Regions from separate parts of the Homo sapiens genome. Here all the other regions are linked to region 1. The links are contacts of gene promoters, found by promoter capture Hi-C in human tissues and cell types (Jung and others, 2019). All regions are on one chromosome and are shown on one strand. Each heading gives the region's core, a stretch centred on a gene start or on the middle of the fragment in contact. The rest is flanking DNA. Distances are from core to core; before and after follow the strand shown.

The links. The method cuts DNA at HindIII sites, captures the fragments that hold promoters and counts their contacts. A contact is called where the count stands out against the background at its distance.
Region 2: a contact is called between a fragment that was not itself captured here and the fragment with the promoter of ABHD16B in region 1, in 3 of the 25 tissues and cell types used here (lymphoblastoid cells, spleen and stomach).
Region 3: a contact is called between a fragment that was not itself captured here and the fragment with the promoter of ABHD16B in region 1, in 1 of the 25 tissues and cell types used here (lymphoblastoid cells).

What each region holds. Positions count from the first base shown.
Region 1 is chr20:63,860,009-63,862,913 of GRCh38, reverse strand. It overlaps ABHD16B (abhydrolase domain containing 16B), which reads right to left and starts at 1,416. Exons shown (of 1, transcript NM_080622.4): 1 at 1-1,416. The coding sequence starts at 1,373. ABHD16B-AS1 (ABHD16B antisense RNA 1) reads left to right here. Exons shown (of 2, transcript NR_165314.1): 2 at 1-1,699. The HindIII fragment of the contact is 14,540 bases long and covers 1-2,905 here.
Region 2 is chr20:63,588,778-63,591,682 of GRCh38, reverse strand. It overlaps GMEB2 (glucocorticoid modulatory element binding protein 2), which reads left to right. Exons shown (of 10, transcript NM_012384.5): 10 at 954-2,905. The coding sequence ends at 1,594. Among named protein-coding and RNA genes, the nearest start is that of HELZ2, 16 kb to the right of the region's middle. RefSeq lists an enhancer at 1,186-1,355. The HindIII fragment of the contact is 3,144 bases long and covers 1-2,905 here.
Region 3 is chr20:64,120,587-64,123,491 of GRCh38, reverse strand. No RefSeq gene overlaps it. Among named protein-coding and RNA genes, the nearest start is that of NPBWR2, 14 kb to the right of the region's middle. RefSeq lists enhancers at 1-378, 2,782-2,905, 2,745-2,905. The HindIII fragment of the contact is 5,841 bases long and covers 1-2,905 here.

The sequences.
Region 1 (2,905 bases), core at 167-2,666:
AGAGGGCTGAAGTGAGTCGCCTCCACGTTCTTGAGGTGCTTCCGAGCCAGGAACAGTGCGAGGCGCCGGCGCCGCCGCGAGCTCAGGCCCTGGCCCACCAGCCATGGGAAGGCGGGTCCGTGTGGCCCCAGGGCCTCCTCGCCCTCCAGCTCCTCTTCGCAGCGTGCACGGTAGGAGCGCAGCAGCGCCAGGCACCAGTCCTCGTCCACGCGGTAGCGTGCATAGAAGGCGGCCTCCTGCGCCAAGCTGCCAGCGCGCAGCCAGCGGGTGACGACGGCGCGGCCCTCTCGCGCCATCACGACGGGGTAGCGGTGCTCCAGCAGGCGCAGCAGCAGCTCATTGCCCCGGTTGCCCTCCACGTCACCAGGTGACAGGGGGCGCAGGCGGCCCGAAGTGCTGACCACGTCATCCTGCGTGCGTCGGAGCAGCAGCACCGGCCCCGGGTAGCAGCACAGCTGCTCGGCCACGTTGAGGTTGAAGTGCTCGCGCACGGTGCGCACCACCAGCCCCTTCCAACTGTGGGGCATGACCTTCAGCGCCAGCGGCACAAGGTCGTCGAAGGTGGCGTCCAGCACCAGTGCACCCAGCTCCGGGTAGGTCATGGTGGCCCAGGTGGCCGTGAAGCCGCCAACAGACCAGCCGTAGACCACCAGGTGCGCGGGCGGGAAGTGCAGGCGGTGCAGTGCGTACTCGACCACCACGTCCATGGCGTTGGCGTCGTGCTGAGGGAAGGGCACGCCAGTGCTGCTGCCGAAGCCGGGGTGGTTCCAGCCCAGCACGGAGTAGCCGGCCTCGAGCGGTGCAGACAGACAGCCCATCTCGTAGAAGCCCGCGTTGCCTTCGCAGCAGATGACGAGGCGCGGCCCGTGCACGTGGCTGCCCGGGTGCTGGCGGCGGTCCATGAACATAGTGTCGATCTCGTTGCCGTCACAGGCCACCAGCTTGGCGCGCCGGCCGTGGTAGCGCTCCACGAGGCGCTCTTGGCCCTGCTGCAGCAGCGGCAGCAGCGCGCGCGTCATCAGGGACACGGAGCCGGGGTACACGAGCCAGCGGCCCAGCGAGTGGGCCAGCGCGTAGCTAGCGAGCTGGCCGGGCAGCTCGCGGAGCTGCTGCAAGAGGCACTGCGCCTGGCTGCGCGCCCCACGTGGAGGCCGCCCCAGCGCATCCCCGCCCAGCGTCTCGTCCCGCAGCAACCACACGCCCGCCGCGGCTGCCGCGCAGGTCAGCGCCCGGTGGCTGCTGCTCCGGCCCACGGCGCGCACGTCATCCCAGCGGAAGGCCACGGGCCAGCCGCGGAATGGGTAGGTGTAGCTGGCGGTCAGGTAGATCTTGAACACGCGCACCAGCGCCTTCACGAAGCAGATGACGCACATGAGCGGTGGCCCTAACGCCCAGCCGCTGGGCCGGGATCGCCGCGAGAGGCACAGGGCAGTCTTAGGGGATACCGGCTCCCGGACAAGCCCTGATGGCCTTTGTGACCTGGCCTTCCAGGGCGGAGGGAAGGCTGCATCCTGTTGCTAGGTGATGGGTGCACAAAGGGTTCCCAGAGATGATGAACCCAAGGTTCTGCCCGTCCCCCGCCTTCGCCAAGACCCCACCAGCTAAACGCTCCCAGGCCCAGCTTTCCCACCCATGATTTGAGCAGCTACTGTCTCCCTCTTTCTTCCTTATTTATTTATTAAATTGAGATGGGGTCTCACTATGCTGCCTAGGCTGGTCTTGAACCCCTGGGCTCAAGCGATCCTCCCGCCTCCACCTCCCACAGTGTTGGGATTACAGGTGTGAGTCCCTGCACCCCGCCTCCACCTCCCACAGTGTTGGGATTACAGGTGTGAGTCCCTGCACCCCGCCTCCCTCTTCCTTAAATTTAAGATGGACAGCCCCACGGGCCAAAAAGGGACAGCAAGGCCTCCTCCGCCTGTACCAGGCTTGCTGTGGGTCCTGCAAGTTTCCCTTCAGGGTCTGCTGGTTTAAACCTCATCTCCCCAGGACGGCCGGGGTCAGAGACAGGGCTGCTGCTGCACCAAAAAGGCGGTATTTGCTCTCGGCCCGGCCCCTCCTCTCCACACCTTCCTTCTTCGGTGCTGACCAGAAACAAGCCCTCTCCTTTTCTGGATCCTCTTTTCACTGGCTGCCAGCAACAGCAGTGACCTTCTGGGGCGGGTCCTGCCTGGCTGGGGTTCCTCTTTCTCGCTCCTGGGTCGAGCCCCCACTCCCAGGCTGCGCCTCCCTCTTTTCTGGAGAGGTATCTTTTCTCCTGCCCTGGAAAGGGCCAGCCCACCTGAGGGCAGGGTCGGAAGCCGCCTGCCAGGAGGAGCCCCAGGGAAGAGGGCAGCTCCAGGTACTCAACAGCTCCCCAGACCAGAAACAAACATGCTACAATCAGGGAGTTTGGCAAATCCAGCCAGAGCCTCTGAGCCCAGGTGCCAGGCCCGCCTGGGACCCCAGCCTTCTGGGGAAGGGGTAGTTTCAGGCTGAAGCACCCCCTCTCTGCTCTCCTGCTCAGCGTCTGGGTTAGAGGCACTGCCTGACCCTAACAGGCCCCGCCCCTAGTTGGGGGAGTCAGCTGCTGCCTTTAGGGGTTGGGGGACAGAAGACAGGGACCAATTAACAAAGGGAGCGATTTGGGGGGCTATTACCCCCATTCTAGGTTGCCAGATAAAATACAGAATAATATGCCAGTTAAATTGGAATTACAAATAAACAAATACTTTTTGGGTATAAGTATGTTCCAACTTCTGCTTGAGACATTATTTTAAAATTGTTTATCTGAAATTCAAATTTAACTGGATATCCTGTTTTTTCTGTTTGTTTGTTTGTTTGTTTTTGAGACGGAGTCTCACTCTTGTCGCCCAGGCTGGAGTGCAATGGTGCAATCTCAGCTCACTGCAACCTCTGCCTCCTG
Region 2 (2,905 bases), core at 164-2,663, 270 kb after region 1:
GACCAGCCTGGCCAACGTGGTGAAACCCCATCTCTGCTGAAAAAAACAAAACAAAACTGGGCATGGTGGTGTGTGCCTGTAATCCCAGCTACTCGGGAGGCTGGCAGGCAATTGCTTGAGCCCAGGAGGTGGAAGTTGCAGGGAGCTGAGATCACACCACTGCACTCCAGTCTGGGTGACAGAGCGAGACCCTGTCTCAAAAAAAAACAATGACAGAGAATGGGAAGGGCTGGTCCTGACCCCGCTCAGAGCTCAAGCCCCTGATATTGGTGCGTTTCCTCCATGCTCCTCTTGGGGTCTGTGCTTACTGTGTGTTCACTGTGTGTGTGTTCAGTGTGTGTGTGTTCACTGCGTGTTCACTGTGTGTTCAATGTGTGTGTATTCAGTGTGTGTGTTCACTGTGTTCAGTGTGTGTGTATTCAGTGTGTGTGCACTGTGTGTTCACTCTTCACTTTGTGTGTTCACTGTTTGTGTTCATTGTGTGTGTGCACTCTGCATGTGTGTGTGCATGTTTATGTTTAAACACATGTGCCACATGTGCTGCTTTTCCTCCTCTCTCTCTTAATATGTCACAAGAGCAACTTTCCACGCTGGGTGTGTGAAAGCTCATGCGGGGATCTGAGACGGCATTTCCACGCTTGCACGCAGGCCCTGGGTCAGTGCAGGAGGGTCTGAGACGGGATTGCCACGCTTGCACACAGGCCCCGGGTCAGTGCAGACCCTGGGTCAGCACAGGCTGGTGTCTACCCCGAGGGCCATCTTGGGCCCCGTCTCCCACAGACCTCACCTTTGGCGGCCATGTGGTCATCTGGGTTTGTGGCATCAGGTGAGCAGACCTGGGTTGCCACTGACCCAGGGGCCACCCAGATGGTGTGGCGTGTCTGCCCCCATCCCCTGCATGCCGCCATCCATGCCCCCGTCCCCTGTGTGATGCCATCTGTACCTCCCTGCAGCCCTGGAGCAGCAGTGTGATGAGCATCGTCGCCGAGCCAAGGAGCTGAAGCACAAGTCCCAGCACCTCAGCAACGTGCTCATGACGCTGACGCCGGTCTCCCTGCCACCGCCTGTGAAGCGGCCCCGGCTTGCACGTGCCACATCAGGACCGGCCGCCATGGCCTCGCAGGTGCTCACCCAGTCTGCCCAGCTGGCGCTTGGCCCGGGCGTGCCCGTCCCCCAGCTGACCAGCGTGCCCCTTGGTAAAGTGGTGTCCACCCTGCCGTCCACCGTCCTGGGCAAGGGTTCCCTTCAGGCGCCCCCCGCCAGCTCCCCGGCCTCCCCGCTGCTCGGGGGATACACAGTCTTGGCCTCTTCCGGCTCCACCTACCCCAGCACAGTGGAGATCCACCCGGACGCGTCCAGCCTCACGGTCCTGAGCACGGCCGCCGTGCAGGACGGTAGCACGGTGTTCAAGGTGGTCAGCCCGCTACAGCTGCTCACGTTGCCTGGCCTGGGCCCCACCCTGCAGAACGTGGCCCAGGCCTCGCCTGGCTCCAGCACAATTGTGACAGTGCCCGCAGGGGCTGCCCCCGGGCCTGAGGAGCACACGGCCACCATTGAGGTGGCTGCCATGGCAGAGGACCACGAGCGGAAGTAGCCGACAGGAGGGCGAGGCCCCTGGGACGGACAGGGCTGGCTGTCTCTCAGCCGCGGCAGCAGGGAGCGGGCAGAGGCCGCAGGGCTGGCTCGGGCAGGTGGGTCACGTGGTCTGCAGAACCAAAGAGAGGAATCGCCAAAACAAATCACGAGAAGAGAGAAGGGGACAGAACAGCGAGAGCAACCTGGAAAATCGGTCTTCAGGTCCCACGTTTCCTCCCCCTTTTTTCTTGGGAAATATATTTTTCCATCTGTTGCTTATTAATACTGTTTACACATTGGGCCTTGATCAGGAGCCAGGTGGGCGGGGGCTAGGGGGAGCCTGGGTGCAGCAGAGACAGAGGAAGCAGAGCCAGGTGCCGAGCGCGACCCTGCAGGTGCTGGACGCGGTGCAGCAGGTCACGAGGCCCCCATGTCTGCACCCAGCCAGGTCCCTGGGGACGTTACTAACTCATGACTTGGGAGCTAAGCCCAAGTGTGAAACCTCTGGATCCTATGGATTTGGTTTCTTCCCACAGTTTTCTGTAGGTTTAGTGTGGCTGGCGCCCCGTTCTCCTCCAGTTGGGAACATGCACCCGGAGCTTGGGGTGCAGATCCTGATGGGTGCCTGCCTCCCCCGCCCCCAGCCGGTGCTCAGGTGGCCCAGGGGCCGCACAGACGAGGCGTGGTCCAGGCATTGTTGCACATGTACTGAGGGTGTTTTTAAGTGAATTGCTTAGTAGGCTTCTAGGAAGAGTCAGATTTATAGCATTTTCAACCAAAATAATGGTGAGTGCCTAGGCTTCCCGAGTTAGCTCTTTGGGTGGCCCCTGAGCCCCTGTGAGTGCACTTGACCGGGTGCGGAGGTCCTGGGCAGCCTGTCCCTGAGCCGGCCCCTCCCAGGGGTCTGAGATCCATGAGGTGTGTCCCTAGGGCTTCAGTCCTGGGGCAGAGGCATAAACAGAACCAGTCACTATGGAGGTCGAGGATTCCCATGTGGGCCCTTCAGCTTGGGCTGCTTGGCCACGGAACAGCCCTTGGCTCCCTGGCCCCCGGCCCCCATGCAGCCCCTGGGCTGGCCCTTGGTGGTCTCTGTCCAAGGGAGAGCCCCTGGGTGTTCAGGAGGCTGCCCCGGGTGGGCTGCTCAGGGCAGCTGCCGAAGGTGGAGCCCAGAGCCTGTCTGGAAGGGCTGTCTGTGGCTGTCCTGAGACCTGGCCTTGGACTCACAAGGAAGACCAGGCTGAGGCCCCTCCAGGCCAGGGTCCTGGGGCAGGCATCTCAGGGAGCAGCCAGCCCAGGCCTCCTGCCGTCTCCAACAGGGCATGTCCCGGGA
Region 3 (2,905 bases), core at 157-2,656, 260 kb before region 1:
CCTCTCGAAACTGTGTTCTCCAGGCTTTCTCAGGACCTCTCGAAACTGTTCTCCAGGCTTTCTCAGGAAACTCGAAACTGTGTTCTCCAGGCTTTCCCAGGACCTCTCGAAACCATGTTCTCCAGGCTTTCTCAGGACCTCTCGAAACCGTGTTCTCCAGGCTTTCTCAGGACCTCTCGAAATCGTGTTCTCCAGGCTTTCTCAGGACCTCTCGAAACCGTGTTCTCCAGGCTTTCCCAGGAGCTCTCGAAACCGTGTTCTCCAGGCTTTCTCAGCACCTCTCGAAACTGTGTTCTCCAGGCTTTCTAAGGAAACTCAAAACTGTGTTCTCCAGGCTTTCTCAGGACCTCTCGAAACTGTTCTCCAGGCTTTCTCAGGAAACTCGAAACTGTGTTCTCCAGGCTTTCTCAGAACCTCTCGAAACTGTTTTCTCCAGGCCATGGTCATTCATATTGACTCAGAATAAACCTCTTTAAAATATTTTACAGAATCTGTTTTTTTCCATTAACGTTATTGAGTTTTGAGAGTTCTTGATATACTCTGGATACAAGTCCTTTATCAAATATGTGATTTGCAAAAATTGTCTTACAGCCTTGGGCTTGTCTTTTCATTTTCTTAGCAGTGTCTTTGGAATAGCAGAAGTTCTTAGTTTTGATGAAACATCTTATTTATTTGATGGATTATGTTTTGATATCCTATCTAATAATGTTTTGCCTGATCTAAGTTTGCAAAGGTTTTCTTCTATGTCCTCTTATAGAAGTTTTATAATTTTAGCTTTTACATTTAGGTTTATGATCCATATTGACAATATTTTAATATAGTACAAGGTATGGATCAAAGTTCATTTTTTTGCATATGGATATCCAACTGTTTAGCATCATTTACTGAGAACAAAACTTGCCTTTATTGAATTGCCTTTGCAGCTTTGTTGAAAATCACTTGCTCATATTTGTGGGTCTATTTCTGGTATCTCTAATTTGTTCTATTGATCTGTCTATCTTGATGCAAATACCACACTGTCTTTTTTTAAAATATTATTTCTTTTATCATGATACTTCTCTTTCTTCTTTCTTTTTTTTTTTTTTTTTGACAGTGTCTCACTCCGTCACCCAGGCTGGAGTGCAGTAGTGAGATCTCAGCTCACTGCAACCTCCGCCTCCCAGGATCAAGTGATTCTCGTGCCTCAGCCTCCTGAGTAGCTGGAATTACAGGTGTGTGCCACCACGCCTGGCTACATTTTTTGTATTTTTAGTAGAGACGGGGTTTCACCATGTTGGCCAGGCTGATCTCAAACTCCTGACCTCAAGTGATCCACCCACCTCAGCCTCCCCAGGAGCTGAGAACTCTGGCAGGGAGACTCTGTGGTGTAGGAACCCCAGGTCTCCAGCCATGTCTGAAAAACAGTGTTAACCCACGGCTTCACCCCAGCTTTGAAACACCTGGGTGTTCTTCAGAAATACCTGCTATAGTTTGGACGTTTGTCCCCGAACCTCATGTTGAAATTTAATCCCCGATGTTGGAGGCGGGGCCTGGTGGGAGGTGTTCGGGTCATAGGGAAGGATCCAGAATGAATGGTTTAGTGCCCTCCTCATGGTGATGAGTGAGTTCTTGCTCTATTAGTTCCCACACGAGCTGGTTGTTTTAAAAAAATCCTGGCATCGCCCCTCTCTCTCGCCTCTTCTCTTACCATGAGACACCTCCCGCCATGAGTGCACGCTCCCTGAGGCCTCCCCAGAAGCAGGTGCCGGCACCGTGCTTCCCGTACACCCTGCAGAACCGTGAGCCAAACAAACCTCTTTTCTTTATAATGGCCCAGCCTCTATCCTTCTCCTCACCTAGGAAAAAGAAAAAGAAATTACCCAGCCTCAGATATTCCTTCATAGCAACACAAAACTAGGACAACACTGGTGCCCAGGCCCCAGCCCAGACCAAGCACATCAGAGCCTGGGCATGGGGGTGGAACCAGCTCCAGTGAGCTCCTGAAGTCCCCAGGGGATTCTGTGCACATCCAGGGTGGAGAACTTGGCCGTAGACAGTCCAGACAAAAATATTCTTTATACGATTAGCACAGAGTTGTTGTTTAAACTCAGTGGTAAGAACAGAACACAAGAGTTTTAACAGGAGTCATAGTTTTCACCATTAAGAATCTTTACCTACTATTGGAATCCAGGTACACACATTTACCCTGGGGTTTAATTTGCTGTGTAAAATTGACTTGGTTCTTTTACAAATTGCTGGCAAGTTGAGGTTGGGGCCACCACAAAACAAGTCTCTAGCAAGACAAAGAGCATAGTTGTGTGTTTGGGTCTCTCCACACCAGAATGGAGCTCCTTGTGGGCAGAGGCTGGCTTGCCCCTTGTCTTAGTCTGTTTCCTGCTGCTTATAACAGAAACTGGGTAATTTAAAAGAAACAAAATGTATTTCTTACAGTTCTGCGGGCTGGGAAGTCCAAGGTCAATGGGCCACATCTGGTGAGGTTTTCTTGCTGGTGGGAACCCCAGAGTCCCAAGGCAGTGCAGGGCGTCGCATGGTGAGGGGCTGAGCGTGCTGGCTCAGGTCTCTCTCTTCTTATAAAGCTACTAGCCCCACTCCTATGATAACCCATTAATCTATAAATAAATTAATCTATTCATGAGGGCAGAGCTCTTGTGACCCAATCACCTCTTAAAGGCCCCACCTCTCAATACTGCCACATTGGGGATTAAATTCCAACTTGAGTTTTGGAGGTGACAAATATTCAAACCACAGCATCCTTAAATCATCAGAGACTGGCCTGCCTGCCCCCATGTCCACTCGAAAATGAATGCCGCGCAAGCCCCCACCCCCACCCTACTGAATGGTCCCTTTTCCTCTGCAGCAGTTCTCGGAACTGGCCACTGGGGGTCAGGGTTGGTCCGCGTCGCAC